2 separate regions of the Homo sapiens genome follow, and region 2 is linked to region 1. Evidence: promoter capture Hi-C in human tissues and cell types (Jung and others, 2019). All regions are on one chromosome and are shown on one strand. The core of a region is centred on a gene start or on the middle of the fragment in contact, and the rest is flanking DNA. Distances in the headings are between cores, read along the strand shown.

The links. The method cuts DNA at HindIII sites, captures the fragments that hold promoters and counts their contacts. A contact is called where the count stands out against the background at its distance.
Region 2: a fragment that was not itself captured here is called in contact with the fragment with the promoter of HECTD1 in region 1 in 1 of the 25 tissues and cell types used here (dorsolateral prefrontal cortex).

Annotation. Positions count from the first base shown.
Region 1 is chr14:31,206,472-31,214,251 of GRCh38, reverse strand. It overlaps HECTD1 (HECT domain E3 ubiquitin protein ligase 1), which reads left to right and starts at 6,459. Exons shown (of 43, transcript NM_015382.4): 1 at 6,459-7,236. RefSeq lists enhancers at 5,518-6,029, 5,883-6,052, 6,030-6,541, 7,054-7,567 and silencers at 6,233-6,572, 6,873-7,082, 7,203-7,412. The HindIII fragment of the contact is 13,658 bases long and covers 1-7,780 here.
Region 2 is chr14:32,543,817-32,551,283 of GRCh38, reverse strand. AKAP6 (A-kinase anchoring protein 6) reads right to left here. Exons shown (of 14, transcript NM_004274.5): 4 at 4,285-6,054. Among named protein-coding and RNA genes, the nearest start is that of AKAP6, 220 kb to the right of the region's middle. The HindIII fragment of the contact is 3,069 bases long and covers 88-3,156 here.

The DNA of each region.
Region 1 (7,780 bases), core at 5,210-7,709:
CTCCCGAGTAGCTGGGACTACAGGCGCCCGCCACTACGCCCGGCTAATTTTTTGTATTTTTAGTAGAGACGGGGTTTCACCGTTTTAGCCGGGATGGTCTCGATCTCCTGACCTCGTGATCCGCCCGCCTCGGCCTCCCAAAGTGCTGGGATTACAGGCGTGAGCCACCGCGCCCGGCCTGGGTTTTTTTTTTTTTTTTTTTTGAGACAGAGTCTCGCTCTGTTGCCCAAACTGGAGTGCAATGGCACAATCTCTGCTCACCGCAACCTCCACCTCCTAGGTTCAAGCGATTCTTATGCCTCAGCCTTCCCAGTAGCTGGGACTACAGTCATACACCACCATGCCCGGCTAATTTTTGTATTTTTCGTAGAGACGGAGTTTTACCATGTTGCCCAGGCTGGTCTTGAACTCCTGACTTCACATGATCCACCCGCCTTGGTCTCCCAAAGTGCTGGGATTACAGGAGTGAGCCACTGCTCTTGGCCAGGTATTACCTTTATTTTACATAAGAGGAAAAACTCAGAGGTTAGATGACTTCCTCGGAGTCTCACAACTAGTAAGGGACAGGTTTCATTCTCAAATCCATGTCTTCAACTCTATGGCTCTTAGAATCTGAAGGAAGATTAAAGATAATCTACTCTACTTTCTCTCATGCTAAAGTACTGTGCACCTGAGTAGTACTGTGCACCATCCCTGACTAGTGTGTGTATGTGTGTGTGTGTGTGAGAGAGAGAGAGAGAGACAGAGAGACAGAGACAGAGACACAGAAAGAGGGGGAGGGGAGATAGGATCTCACTCTGTCATCCAGGCTGGGATGGAGTCGCATGATCTTGGTTTACTGTAATCTCAGTCTTCTAAGATGAAGTGATCCTCCTACCTCAGCCTCTGGACTAGCTGGGACTGTAGGCTAAGTTTTAAAAACTTTTTATAGTGATGAGGTCTCACTATGTTACCCAGGCTGGTCTTGAACTCCTGGACTCAGGCGAGCCTCCCACCTCAGCCTTCCAAAATGCAAGGATTACAGGTGTATGCCACAGCCCCTGAGCCATTCCTGACTTGTTATCCAGTCTCTTCTGTCATATTTCCAGTGTTGGGAAATTATTACTTCATGAAGCAATGCATTTTACTTTGATCTACTAGCTCCAATGATTACAAAATGGTATGACCAAGTATACATATGAGAGTTGGCAGATGGATGTTTGAAACCCAGTTCCCCATTTTATTAGGTAGGTGAATTTGGGAAAGTTATTTAACATCTCCAAACCACAGTTTCCTGGCTGGGTGCAGTGGTTCATGCCTGTAATCCCTGCACTTTGGGAGGCTGAAGAGGGTGGATCACTTGAGGCCAGGAGTTCGAAACCAGTCTGGCCAACATGGAGAAGCCCTGTCTCTACTAAAAATACAAAAATTAGCCAGGCTTGGTGGTGTGCGCCTGTAGTCCCAGCTATTCGTGAGGCACAAGAATCGCTTGAACCCAGGAGGTGGAGGCTGCAGTGAGCTGAGATCGTGCCACTGCACTCCAGCTGGGTGACAGAGTAAGACTCTGTCTCAAATAAATAAATAAATAAAAACACGGAAAATACCTATTTTAAGTGTTAATCATTTTATATATATAATAAACTAATGTATAAAGACTAAATAATAATATATATTAAAGTATCTTTCTAACTGTAGCCAGGCGCTGGGGCTCATCCCTGTAATCTCAGCACTTTGGGAGGCTGAGGTGGATGGATCCCTTGAGTCCAGGAGGTGGAGATCAACTTGGGCAACATGGTGAAACCCTGTGTCTACTAAAAATACAAAAATTAGTCAGGCATGGTGGCGCAGGCCTGTAATCCCAGCTACTCAGGACGCTGAGGTACGAGAATCGCTTGAACCTGGGAGGCAGAGGTTGCAGTGTGCTGAGATTGTGCCACTGCACTCCATCCTGGATGACAGAGCGAGTCTCTGTCTCAAAAACAAAAAAAAAACCCCAAAAAACAAAAAATAAAATAAAATAACATATCTTGCTAACTGTAAAGCATAATAGAAACAGATTTTAACTTTAAAGTGGTTAATAATCCTAAAACCTACATGCCATCTCAGTACTTTCTTGTTTTAAATATCCAAAGGCTCCCCTTGCCCAAAGAACAAAGTTCAAACTCATTACGGTGTTCAAGACCCTTAAGAAATTGTCTCCAATTAACTTCAATGATCTCTTCCAGCCACTAACACCACTCTAGGTACCAACCAAACTTAGTTTCCCACTCTTTCCAATTGCAGACCACATTCTTTCATACCCAGAACTTCACAGAAGTTGAGGATAGCCAGGGACACTTACATTTGTAGTTCAAACTTGAAGACATGTCCAAACATTTTCTGTAGCATATTTTATAGGTTTTCATCTACCAATTATGCCTCTGATACACAAAAAACATAATGGTTTATTGTTGTGCTATTCATAACTATAAGGTTAACTCTAGAAAATTAATTCATAGGCCGGGCGTGGTGGCTCACACCTGTAATCCCAGCACTTTGGGAGGCTGAGGTGGGTGGATTACCTGAGGTCGGGAGTTTGAGACCAGCTGACCAACATGGAGAAACCCCGTCTCTACTAAAAACACAAAAAAATTAGCCAGGCATGGTGGTGCATGCCTGTAATCTCAGCTACTCGGGAGGCTGAGGCAGGAGAATCACTTGAACCCAGGAGGCGGAGGTTGCGGTGAGCCAAGATCGCACCATTGCACTCCAGCCTGGGCAACAAGAGTGAAACTCCGTCACAAAAAAAAAAAAAAAAAAAAAGGAAAGAAAAGAAAATTAATTCATAGTACATACCAGTTGATGAAATGAGTTTAGATTTGTATGATGAATATCTTCCTTTTTATTAATAGTCCTGTGAGTTGATCCCAGCGACTGTGTACACATCGAAGTTCCTTCGCCAATGTGGAGCCTCAGTCAAAAGGCAGCCTGTTGCTTCATTCTGCCAAGAGGGACCCTCTTCGTACCTCTGTGCCTGTCCATATGCTTTTCCTAATTATCTGGCCAGCTGTGACTCATTATCTGAGATTTAATTCACACTTCATTCCTGAAGCTTTCCAAGATGCCATCTCCTACCTCCTTAATGTTCCCAGCATGTACCTGACAATATCACCTAATAAGCGGTATGATAGAGGAGACTCAGAGGAGTGTGTTTACATCTACCTTTATTGAGGAAGAGGTCTGTGACTACTGAGCCTTACACTGAGCCTGGCACAGAGCAGTTCTCGATGGTCTATGATTCTTGGATTTTGGAAGCAATGGGAAATACCAACATGTAAACAGTTCCTGGTTTCTTGGGATAAGTATTCAAGTCTGGTCAGTTGCCTTTATCCGGATATTTTGTTGTCTTCATGACTTCATTTCTCTCCTTTAATGCTCTTGTTCTGGGATCTCATGCTTGAATTCTTTTTTTCTGTTTGAGTTTAAAATAATAACATGGGCCGGGCATGTGGCTCATTCCTATAATCCCAGCACTTCTGGCGGCCAAGGCTGGAGCATTGCTTGAGCCCAGGAGTTGGAGACCAGCCTGGGCAACATAGTTAGATCCTGTCTCTACAAAAAAATAAAAATAGCTGGGTGTAGTGGCATGGGCCTGTAGTCCCAGCTACTCCGGAGGCTGAGGCAGGAGAATCGCCTTGAGCCCACGAGTTGGAAGCTGCAGTCATTTAGGATCACACTGCTGCACTCCAGCCTGAGCCACAGAGCAAGACCCTGCCTCTAAATAAAAATCAAAATAAATATGATAATAACATCTTTAAAAAGTGCAATAAGTGTCACAGCATTCTTTTGATAAGGTTTCTTTAAAGCACACTAGACATTAATCTTGCGGGCAGGAAGTGGGTGGGTGGTACATGTAGAGATAGTGCAGGATAAAAAAATATATATCTTAAAAACTTGGTAAAGGTGGCCAGGCGCAGTGGCTCATGCCTGTAATCCCAGCACTTTGGGAGGCCAAGGCGGACGGATCACAAGGTCAGGAGATCGAGACCATCCTGGCTAACATGGTGAAACCCCATCTCCACTAAAAAATACAAAAAATTAGCCAGGCGTGGTGGTGGGTGCCAGTACCTGTAGTCCCAGCTACTCGGGAGGCTGAGGCAGCAGAATGGCATGAACCCGGGATGCAGAGCTTGCAGTGAGCCGAGATTATGCCACTGCACTCCAGCCTGGGCAACAGAACGAGACTCCGTCTCAAAAAAAAAAAAAAAAAAACAACAAAAAACTTGGTAAAGGTATAATCCCTTTTTCTAACTTTTCTATTTTTTGTTAATAGCATCACCATTTTCCTAGCTTCCAAGTCCTCTTTCTACGTTAAGGGTTTTTGTTTTTTGTTTTGGCAGGGTCTTGCTCTATTGCCCAGGCTGTAGTGCAGTGGCATGATCATGGCTCACTGCAGCTTCGACCTCGAGGGCTCAGGTGATCCTCCTGCCTTTGACTCCTGAGTAGCTGGGACTACAGGTGTGCACCACCACACCCAGCTAATTTTAAAAATTATTTGTAGAGACAGGGTCTCCCTATGTTGCCTAGGCTGGTCTCCTACTCCTGGGCTCAAGTGATCCCCCTGCCTCTGCCTCCCAAAGTGCTGGGATTACGGGTGTGAGCCATGGAGCCTGGACGGAAATTTTTAAGTTAATCATTTAAATTCTGATATATCTTCTTTCAAAAATTATTTTTAGATTTCTTCCCCATTCATATTGCCAATAACTAGACTTTTCTTTCCTCCATTATTGCAGCATTTCGACAACCTCCAGCTAGTCTCGTCTAGATAGATCCTTTTAGTCGTTCTAGACACTTTCCATAATTAGTCTTCTTAAGACTAGTTTTTCCAGTGTTGTAGTCCAGAACTTGCTACTTAGCTCAGCCTAATTTCTGCATTCCTCATTCAAGGCCTTCCCCACTTTAGCTCCAAATTTCTCTCTCTGTTGCTTACTGTTGGTTCTTTGCTGGGGGCACAGGTGACCTTTCCTATGTCTAGGAACATATCAGGCTTTATGTTCTTCCCTTTCCTTTCAGTGTCTACATTGTACCCATTCTTCAAGGTCCAGAGGGAATGCCACTTCCTTCTTGAAGTTTCCTGGCAGCTCCAATTCACACTCATGACATCTAAATAATTATCCTCATGTGTTGTACTTGGGACAAAATAGTTGAATCCTCTTTTTCCTCTTGTTTCGTTAACAGGATACCTAAACGGACCATTACCTGCGACAACGGGACATGCGCGGATAGCTATCTGAAGTACAAATTTGTCATTTCCAAAATACTGGTTCTTTTTCTAAAGAAGTAGTAAAAAAGAAAGAAAAAAAAGAACCAGTATTTTGGAAATGACAAATTTGCTTAGTCGCCCAGGCTGGAGTGAGGTGGCATTATCAAAGCTCACTGCAGCCTCAATTTCTTGGGCTCGAGGGATCATCCCATCTCAACCGCTCCAGTAGCTGGGACCATAGGTGTGCGTCACCGCATCTGGGTAATTATTTTTTAAATTTTAATTTTTTTGCAGAGACCAGGTCTATGTTGCTCAGGCTGGTCTCGAACTCCGGGCCTCAAGAGAGTAAAATCATAAAGTGCTGGGATTACAGGAAACGCAGCGGACCCAAATTCTGTTCTTTACTCATACCTAGCAGCTCCTCTGGTTGCCTGAGGGACCATGTCTCAAACACTATCATGTCGTATTAATTTTTCTTTTTGTTTAAAAGCTGAAAGTGAGAGTACAGTAGGACGTCTCCGGGCTCCAACTACGTCCTATAAGCATGCATCCTTTATTCTGAATGCGTGTGAAATAAAGTTTGAAAAGAATAACCACAGACATACTTGTGACCACAAGCCACAAGAAACGTAGTCAAAAGTGCACTCTCAGTGCTGCTGCCGACCGGGCACGGCGCTGGGCCTGCATTTGCGCTTTCCTGGAGCCTCAGTGTCTCATCTGTACAACGTTGATAATCGTCGGCAGCACCTCTTTCCCAGGGTTGCTCTGAAGGGTTTTCTTTGGGGTGAACCGCCAGGCGGTCGGCCTCCCAGGAGCGGGGGGAGACGCCTTCCTTACGCGACGCACTTCCGTGCGCGAGGAGGGAAGATCGTGGCTGAGTGCGGGTGGCCTGGGCGGAAGGCTCAGCGGGGACAGGTTGGGCCGCAGCTTTGCTGTGCTGTGCCGTGCGACGCCCTCCGCAGGAGCGCGCAAAGTGTTAGCCACGGCGCCAAGCAAGCTGGACGTGCGTGCATGAGCGCGCTCGGACTGACAGGGAAGCGAAAAGGGGGCCAGGGCGCACCATAGAAAAGCCGCGGCAGAAACGTACGACACAGCCCGAGGCGGCGGGGGCGAGAGCTCCGGGGCAGGGACGGCGACGCGGCGTACCCGGTTTGGCGCCCCTGCGCGGCGGTCGGCCGTCCCGCAGCGCCCCAGGTGGCCGCCGGCGGGGTCGCCGCCGGGGGAGTGGATTTGCTCCGCCTCCGCCGGGCTCGGCTGCCCTCGGCAGCTTCCCCGCCTGGCTCTCCCTCGACCCTCCTCCCCTCCCCCTCCCGGTTCGCGATGGACTGGGCCTCCCCGCCGCGCCGCCGCCGCCGTCGCCCGCAGCACCGCGCGGGCCTCTGAGTTGCAGGGCCTGAGGAGCCGCGTGCTGGGGACTGGACGTCCGCTGGCTGCTGCCGCACGCGAGAACCTCTCGCTTCCCTGTCACCAGGTCCTCGCGGAGGAAGGGGAGGGACGAGGCGCGGCTTTTCCTGTGCCGCCTGCCCGGTTCGACCTGCGCGGCCTGCGGCTTCTTGGGAACTCTAGGGCCGCGGCCGGGCCTGGCTCTGCCGGCGGCCTGTTGGGAGCTGGATCGGAGCGGTTTGGAACGACAAGCCCGAGTAAGAGCCTGCGGGAAGGGGAGGCGGGAGCGCCTCGGACCGTCGGAAGGGCCCTGCGTGGGGGCGCGGATCCCGGACGCCCGGCGAGTGGCGGAAAGCGAGACCCCGGCGCCGAGTGAGGTCGGCCAGGCTGCTGCCGACTTCCCCGCTGGCCCCTTTGTTCCCCTCCCGGGGCCCTGCCGGCGGCGGGGCCCGGTTGCCCGCGCCAGAGCCTCAGGCCGGCTCCTTTTGCCCTTGAGAAGGGTTCGCTGCCAGGCCTTCGAGTTCCGGGCGCAGCTCCCGGGAGAGCCGGCGCCCTGCCTGGCCCGGCGGCCTCCTCTCGGGCACGAAGGCTTGCTGCTGCTTCTCCAGAACTTCCCTTCCTCGTAGACACAGGTAGTTAACTTAGCGGGGTTTGGTGCTGGGGAACCACAGCGCGGGGGCCAGCGCCTCTCAGCGCCCGGCTCGGCCGGGCCCCGGGTGTGGGGTCAACCCCGCTGGTCGCCGCCGTTGGGTGCCCACCGCGCCCCGCCGCCGGCTTCCCACACTTGCGGCTGCGTTACGTGGGACCCAAAGCTGTCCTCCAGTCAGGGCGCTTACGGGGCGCTTTTGTAATGACTTACCTGTTGGGGTTGCTTCTCGGTTTTGTTTTTGTTTTTTTAACCAACTGCCCTATCTTGTGAAGCTGGGGAAAGAGGGCCCTAGGTTGGCCTACATTCGTTCGGATCCGTAACCTGCTGGTCCATTGCATTTACTTTTAGCCTTTCCTTTTTTAATTTTTTTATTTTTTTAACTTTTAAGAATAGTTGCCAAGACTGCCAAAATTCCTAACCAACTCTTTATTCATAGATAAATCTTGTATATAATTGTCGTTTGTATTTGGATATCTTTAAAATAGAAGTAAATTGAGAAGTCAGCAGAATATGTGAAATTGGAGGTA
Region 2 (7,467 bases), core at 373-2,872, 1.3 Mb before region 1:
CATCTTTTAAAAGATGGTCAGAGTAGTCCTCTCTGAGAAGATAATATTTTAGCTGAGACTTGGAACAGGTGAAGGAATTATAAATGAGGGCATCTGCTGGAGAGGATGTAGACAAAAGCAGCTGACAATGATCCTAAAGGCAAGAAGCATGCCAAGTATGTTCTAGGAAAGGGAGTGTAGTGAGCATGGGGAAAAGTCATTGGAAAGGATGTCAGAGAGGAAATCAGGGAACAGTCCATGTAGGACCTCTGAATACAATGGCAACCCTCTATTGTGGAGTTTGGAGCAGAGGGATGACATAATCTGATTTATCTTTTAAAAGGATCACTCTGGCTACTCTATTGGAAATAGACTGTAGTGAGAGAAGAATAGAAGCAGAGAGACCAGTTAGGAGGCTACTGCAGTAATCCAGGAAGGAGGTGATGGGGGCTAGAACCAGAATGGAACAGGAGAGAAGTGGTTAGTGGTTAATTTAGGATTAAAAACCTACCTTAGAGGGTTGTTATAAGAATTTTATGGGAGAGTTATTATAGGTAAAATGCCTAGCAGATGCCTTCTATAAAGAAGATATTAAGTAATATCCTCTGTCATTATATTTTCCAGGCAGAATGGGTTCTCTGGGTCACTATAAGGAGGAGACCAAAGCTAGAGTGTGATAGCCAAGGCCAGTTGACCTGGAGGTTGGCAGCTGCCCTCATCTGGTGTAGTAAGGGAGAGCATGCGGGAGAGCGCTGCATATCATAAAGTCATATACAAATTATATGTAGCCAAGCGTGGCCATTTATATGTCATCAAACAAGAAACCATTAACAATTATCCACCATTAACAATCAAACCATTAACAATTTCCAGCTGGCCTGAGGAAGGAACTTGATCTTCTTTTAGCCTCTTCCCTCATATCCCAACTCCAGTATGGGATTTTTCAACTGCCTATAAACCATTTCTTCTTAAAAGTTTCATCATATGCTATCTATGCACGGTTTTTAAAAAATTACCTGCACCACCTCTACTTCAAACCAGCTACTCATCCAAATGTTTCCTTCTATTAAAGACACACCAGTCTCCAGATGCTGAAAACCTAGCTGCATTTTTGTAGAACTGTGGAATCAAATTGGAAGTTGGTATCATAGTCATCATCGGGTTAAAACATCTCTTTACAAAAGATGAAACAAGGCTCAGAATGGAATATGCCAAGCTGTGGGCCACACCAGGCTTTAATCACTGAATGGCTCCTGAATTCTTTCTAGCAAGGTCTAGAACCAGTTTTCTGGACTCATTCACTTTTTCAACACTCCCCTCCCTTCCTCTTGCCTGATCCACATCACAGCAGTTCCTCAGGTTGGCTGCCACAGGCCAACACCTCTGCCCTGGTCACCGCCATGTCTGCCAGGACCATCTTTCTGTTATTGCCAATTAACCCTTCTGGAAAGACTACTAGAGACCAGGGCCTACACTGCTTTAAGAATGCTGGTTATGGGTTCAAATCCTGGCTTTGTACTTACTAGCTGTGAGGACTTGAGCAAGTTTCCTAATCACATACTGCCTTAGTTTCTTCATCTGAAAAAATCCTCCCTTCCGGGACTTAAGTAGGGTAAGCCACGTAAAATACTTAGTACAGAGCCAAACACAAAATAAAAGCTTAAGAAGTATTAGTTATTACTGTCAGTCCCTTTCAGAGAAGTTGCTGTGGGTGCCTGGTGAACAAATTCTAATTGCCTTGGCGTGGCCTTCATGGCCTTTCCATACCTACTTTAGGTATGGAAACTTTCACTGATCTCTGATGACAAACCTTCCAACCAGGACAGCTCTCTTTGTACCCCATATCCATGCTCATTCTCATTTCTACCTCTGTGTTTTAGTTTATGCTCCTCCTACCTGAAACGCCACCTTCCTTTTCCTTTATCTGTCTGAATCCTGTACATCCTTCAAAGCTCCACTTAAGGTTTAGTACTTCACAAGAACTGCCCAGTCAAATTCTAGCTCCACTGATATTATTACTACTCTACAATACCACAGTTTTTATATTCGGTACTTATTGATCACTTCCTCATGGACAGGAATGAGGGCATTTAGTTAATAATATGGGCTCTGGAGCAGACTGCATGGTCTCTCTCAGCCTGTCTCCTCAGCCATAAAATAAGGTTAATATCAGGGTTGTTGTGAGGACTAGATACACGAATACTTGATATATGTTAATGATGATTAATATGTTATTACTGCTGTATATTTGATAACTTTTTCCTCTTTGTTTATAAACCTGCATTTTCTTCCTCCAGGTTATTCTATCCATATGCACTATACCTTTATCCAGTGTCTAGCACAATGCTGGTCTCAGAGTAGTATTCGACAACGAATGGATGTAAAAAAAACAAAAAACAGAACAAAAAAAAATTAGGAGGAGTGCCCATGGCAGTTACATCAATATTCTCTATCCAGTCTGAATGGGTCCTGAACTCTTTCTTCTCTCCTATCTTATAGTTTCCCGGCGAAGGAGAAACTACAACCCCTTTCAGGGAGGCAACATGATACTATAGAAGAAAACTGGACTAAGAATCAGAAGACGTGAGTTTGCGTCTCAGCTTCCTACACAAAAGGTCTGTCTGGTTTGTCTGTCTCTGTCTCTGCCTGTCTGTCTGTCAGTCTGTCTATCTGTGTCTGTCTGTTTGTCTCTATCTAGCTACCTACCATCTCTTTATATCTATCTATCTATCTATCTATCTATCTATCTATCTATCTATCTATCTATCTATCTATTTTAGCTTGAGAAAAATCACTTAAGCTCATGGAGGCTGTTTCCATCTCTGTAAAGCGAGAATAATCTGGCATGGCCTGCTTCCTTCACAGGACAGCTGTGAAGATCAAGTAAAAAAAAAAAATGTATGGGCCACGCACAGTGGCTCACGCCTGTAATCCCAGCACTTTGGGATGCCAAGGCAGGCGGATCACCTGAGGTCAGGAGTTCGAGACTAGCCTGGCCAACATGGCGAAACCCCGTCTCTACTAAAAATACAAAAATTAGCTGGGCATGGTTGTGGGGGCCTATAATCCCAGCTACACGAGAGGCTGAGGCAGGGTAATCTCTTGAACCTGGGAGGTGGAGGTTGAAGTGAGCTGAGATGGTGCCATTCCACTCCAGCCTGGGCAACAGGAGCAAAACTCTGCTCAGAGGAAAAAAAAAAAAAAAAAAAAAGCATGTGGGAGAGCGTTGCATACCATAAAGTCATACACAAATTATATGTAGACAAGCATGGCCATTGATATGTCATCAAACAAGAAACCATTAACAATTATCAAGTCAGCTGGATCTACTTCCAATGGCCTCCTGAGGAAACGGCCATTACCACAGTAATCATAGTGAATCTCTTTGCCCAGATGCCTCTTAAAAGATCAAATAATTACTTATACTATGGAGCTCAGTCCTGAGATTTTTTTTTTTTTTTGAGACAGGGTCTCACTCTGTTGCCCAGGTTGGAGTGCAGTGGCATGACCACAACTCACTGCAGCCTCAACCTCCTCAGCTCAAGCAATCCTCCTGCCTCAGCCTCCTGAGTAGCTGGGACCACAGGTGTGTGCCACCGCTCCTGGCTAATATAGAGATGGGGTCTCCCTACATTGCCCAAGCCGTCGGTCCTGAGATTTTTGATAAGTCTGTCCTCAAACATTACGTCATATCTAGTAATTTGTTCAAAAGTACAGATTTAGCCAAAATGTCAACTTCACATCCCAGAGTCCATGGGTGGTACATGTATAGGTAATATGGTTATTAGCCAGAGTTCTCAAAGAGGAGGAAGAGTAAAGAAAAAAAAGATCCCTAATAAATTAGAAATGTCTGGTCTATTTCTACAAGAAGTTAACATTGGAGATGTGGAATGTATTCTGGAGTCAGAAGAAATGAATAAAAACACTCTGGGGTAACTGGAATAGTCTATGCATATATTCCTGAGCTACTTGTGTGTGCACAGCTATCATTCTATTTAATTTTGTATTAGATCCAAGGGGTTCCAGCATTCATCAGTAGTCATGATAGATTTGAACAATTTCAACAAAGAATTCTATACCAGGCAGGAGCACATCAAGCTAATGCACTGACAAGGGCAATTCCTAGTGATTCATACTCTTTGTCACATGCATTGATCATTGTGCTTTTTCTTTTCTTTCTTTGGAGAATCAGATTTATCAAAAATAGCCATACATTTTATAATAGAGTGTAGGAGTGTGACCTTCTCCCAGCAATACTTCCAAAACTCAAGTGAGAAATCATTCATGTTAAGAAAACCACCTTACCTCTATTTTTTCCCATATGGCTTCATAGTTGTCTTGGTGCTGAATATCTTGCATCAGTTTCTGAATTAAAGCTGATTTAGTGGCAGAATGGCTCTCATTTTTCTCAGAGGATGAAGCTCTTTCTGACTTCTCATCAGCATACTTTTTCATGCCAGCGAGAGGCATACTGGACTCCTCATCAGAAAGAATGTCACTCAGGGGCCCAGATTCAATGCTCTCCCCTAGTGAAGAGGCTATGTCACTAGATGAGCTTGGAGACACCCTGCCTAGCCTTGTATGCTTCTTTTTGACATGATAGGTTGGATAGATTTCAGAATCTGAATTCATTTCAGACAGTTCCCAGTCATCAATATTCTGGATGGTTTCTCCTCTGGGTTTCTGAGGCAGAAGCTTTGTTAGGTTTTCCAACTTCAAAGCCAATACTTCTGTCTGCTTAAGGTGAGAGGGCAGTGCTAGGTATTCATCAGAGCCATACCAGGCCTCCACAACCTCACCATTCCTAGTGACGTGACTTGGAGAGGAGGCTTGACCTTTTTTGCTTTTGTGTTTTGAAAGAAGTGGCACCGGAGACATGATGTTGTCTGAGCCAACAGAGGATTCACTGCTCTGAGTAAAAGCTGGTGAACTGGATGTTTCTGACTGCAATTGCAATTTGGCATTCCAACTTCTCTGATTACAAGGCTCAAGTGAGGATGTGGAAGCAGAATTTGTTTGTGGCCCCTCTATGGCCTTGGAAGTATAAGAAAGCTCTCCATTTGGCACTGCTGAGCTCTTTGTATTTTTAGCTTGTTTGCCTGAACCAGTCCCCCGTTTAGGTGTTCGGCATGGAGGCACCTCTTCTGAGGTCTTGTGTGGCTTTTTAAGTCGAGATTTCTCTTTATAGCAGTCGTTAAGCCTTCCCAGGCTGGAAGAAATTTCTTTAATGTGAAATTTGACTGTGTTTTCAAGGTTCCCATTCCCCACCTTGTGTAAACACTCATAAGACTGGCTGGCAGCAGAAGGGCTGTTGGGGTAAGAAGACTGCAATACCAGGCAAAGTTTGGATCTGTCAGGAGGATCTACTAGCGAAGGGGTGCTTCTGCTCATCTCAGGCTTTAGATCAACCATTTGCCTCTTTCCACCATTGCCTTTCAGATCATTCTTAAAAGTTTCCTCTTTAAGAAAAAGTCCTCTTTTTGGCAATGTAGGCTGCGTGGGAGAGTCCTCGTTATAATTAAAGCAATCTCTGATGGTTCGTTTGGGGGTTGCATTTTCACAAGGAACAGGCTGCTGATTCTTTGCATCATGATGGGAGGAGGAACTGGATTCTTGCTGCACAGTCTCAGAGGAGGGTTGAGCAGCATTTGTCAGAGCTTCTCCTGAAGATGATGACACCCCCAGTGTTAAGCCTGGTTGCTCTTCGACTGCAGAAGCATTGTCTTCCTCACATCCACCTTTGTCGTCTACTGAGAGAGATACTTGAGATACCTCCTCAGTAACTGCTTCACTGCCATTGGTAGAGATAGAGTCAGCAGCTACCGTAAGTAAACCAACACTTCGGATAAGCTCAGGAAACTCCTTTTCCATCTCACTGTAGCTCCAAGAGTCAAAGGGTTTGGTTTTGACTTGGCTAGAGGTCATGTCACCTAGCCCACTGAGCAAATCCTCACTTGGACTGTAGTCAGACAGTTCGAATGCAGTAATGCCACAATCCAGAGACAAGTAATTTTGAGAACATTTGATGGTTAATTGTCCTGAGTCATCCACTTCTGTTAGAGAATCAAGCCGGCCCTGAAACAGACAATGGCAATGGTTTCAGTAAATGCAACATCAATTACAACATCAGCTGCTATGTAAATGAAATTGCAGTACAGGGCACTATAAAGGTCAAATGTATTGGTCCCTATTGCTTGTGGTTTGACATACACAAAGGGATATTAATCAATTACCACATTGCTTTATATAGTATCTTGTTCTTAAACACCTGAAGATTTTTCACTAATCTGGAGTATACAGCCTTAACAGAAATGTCAAGAGCAAGCCAAAAAAATCCATTCTTGACTTAATTTTCAACTTAAAAATAATATATTATTCATTTAATAAGAATTTCATAAACAAAGCCTTAAGTAATACAATTTCTGGGATCAAAATAATGTAAAAGTAAAATCTCCACGAATGTCTGTTTTGCTTTTTGCTATCATTCCAGTACCTACCACAGTGGCTAACTCATGGTAGATGCTCAATAAATATTTTTAAGTAGAATAATTAATTATAATAAGCCAGTTGTGTTAAACATATATTGATGAATCAAAGGAAGGTAAACTACTGAATTTGCAAATACATAATAGTTCAAGACCAGTTTCTGTTTGGCCCCACCCTTTTGAAGGAGAAAATTAATGAATGTCCAAACTTTATCATTAGAGATAGCATCAGCTCCTCCCTCTGCATGTTTTTCTCCCCAAGTCCTGCTCCCACTGGTGTTTGCGAGCTGTTAAGTGCCCATCTTTCTTACTATTCATAATTCTGGATAGGCTGATTTGATTTAAAACTCCCTCACACTAAAAAAACAGCATTACGATTAACTATTTTTAATTTGTTAAATCTTTAATTCTGTAATTAAGGCTTTTGTCCCATTACTAATGCAGTTTCTGATTTCATACAACAAATGGGAAGATTTTCACTGATGATTTGTTTGGGGTAGAAGAGCCCTGGGAACTATCCTATTTTGCCTACTGGCTAAATAACAGACTGATCTAACCTAGCCCCCTTAGGAAATGAAAAAAGAAAACTGAAAAGTGAAGGGTTGTTACATCCCCAGATCTCCTTTTTTTCTGGAGGAAGAACTGTGGTGAGCCAATTGAAGCTGGATTCCATGTGGCTGCTGGACCCTGTGATCCTTTCAACCAGGTTTTCCCAGATCTGGCTTCTCCAGGATCTTATATCTGGTTTTACTGCTCATTTGTTTGTTTTTGTTTTTGGAATGTTCTCTCCCTTCAGACCTTCACCCTGCCTTTATCTCCTACTCCACTCACTCTCATTCCATAACATCTAGATAAACAGACAAAAAGCCTTATTTAACTTTTCTAAGCCTCAGAGTCCTCATCTATAAATGATGATGGTTGATTACTACAATTACTTTTTCATTTAATCCTTAAAATTTTCTTCTGCCGTCTGTACTATTGTCCCTTTCTTACATAAGAGTAG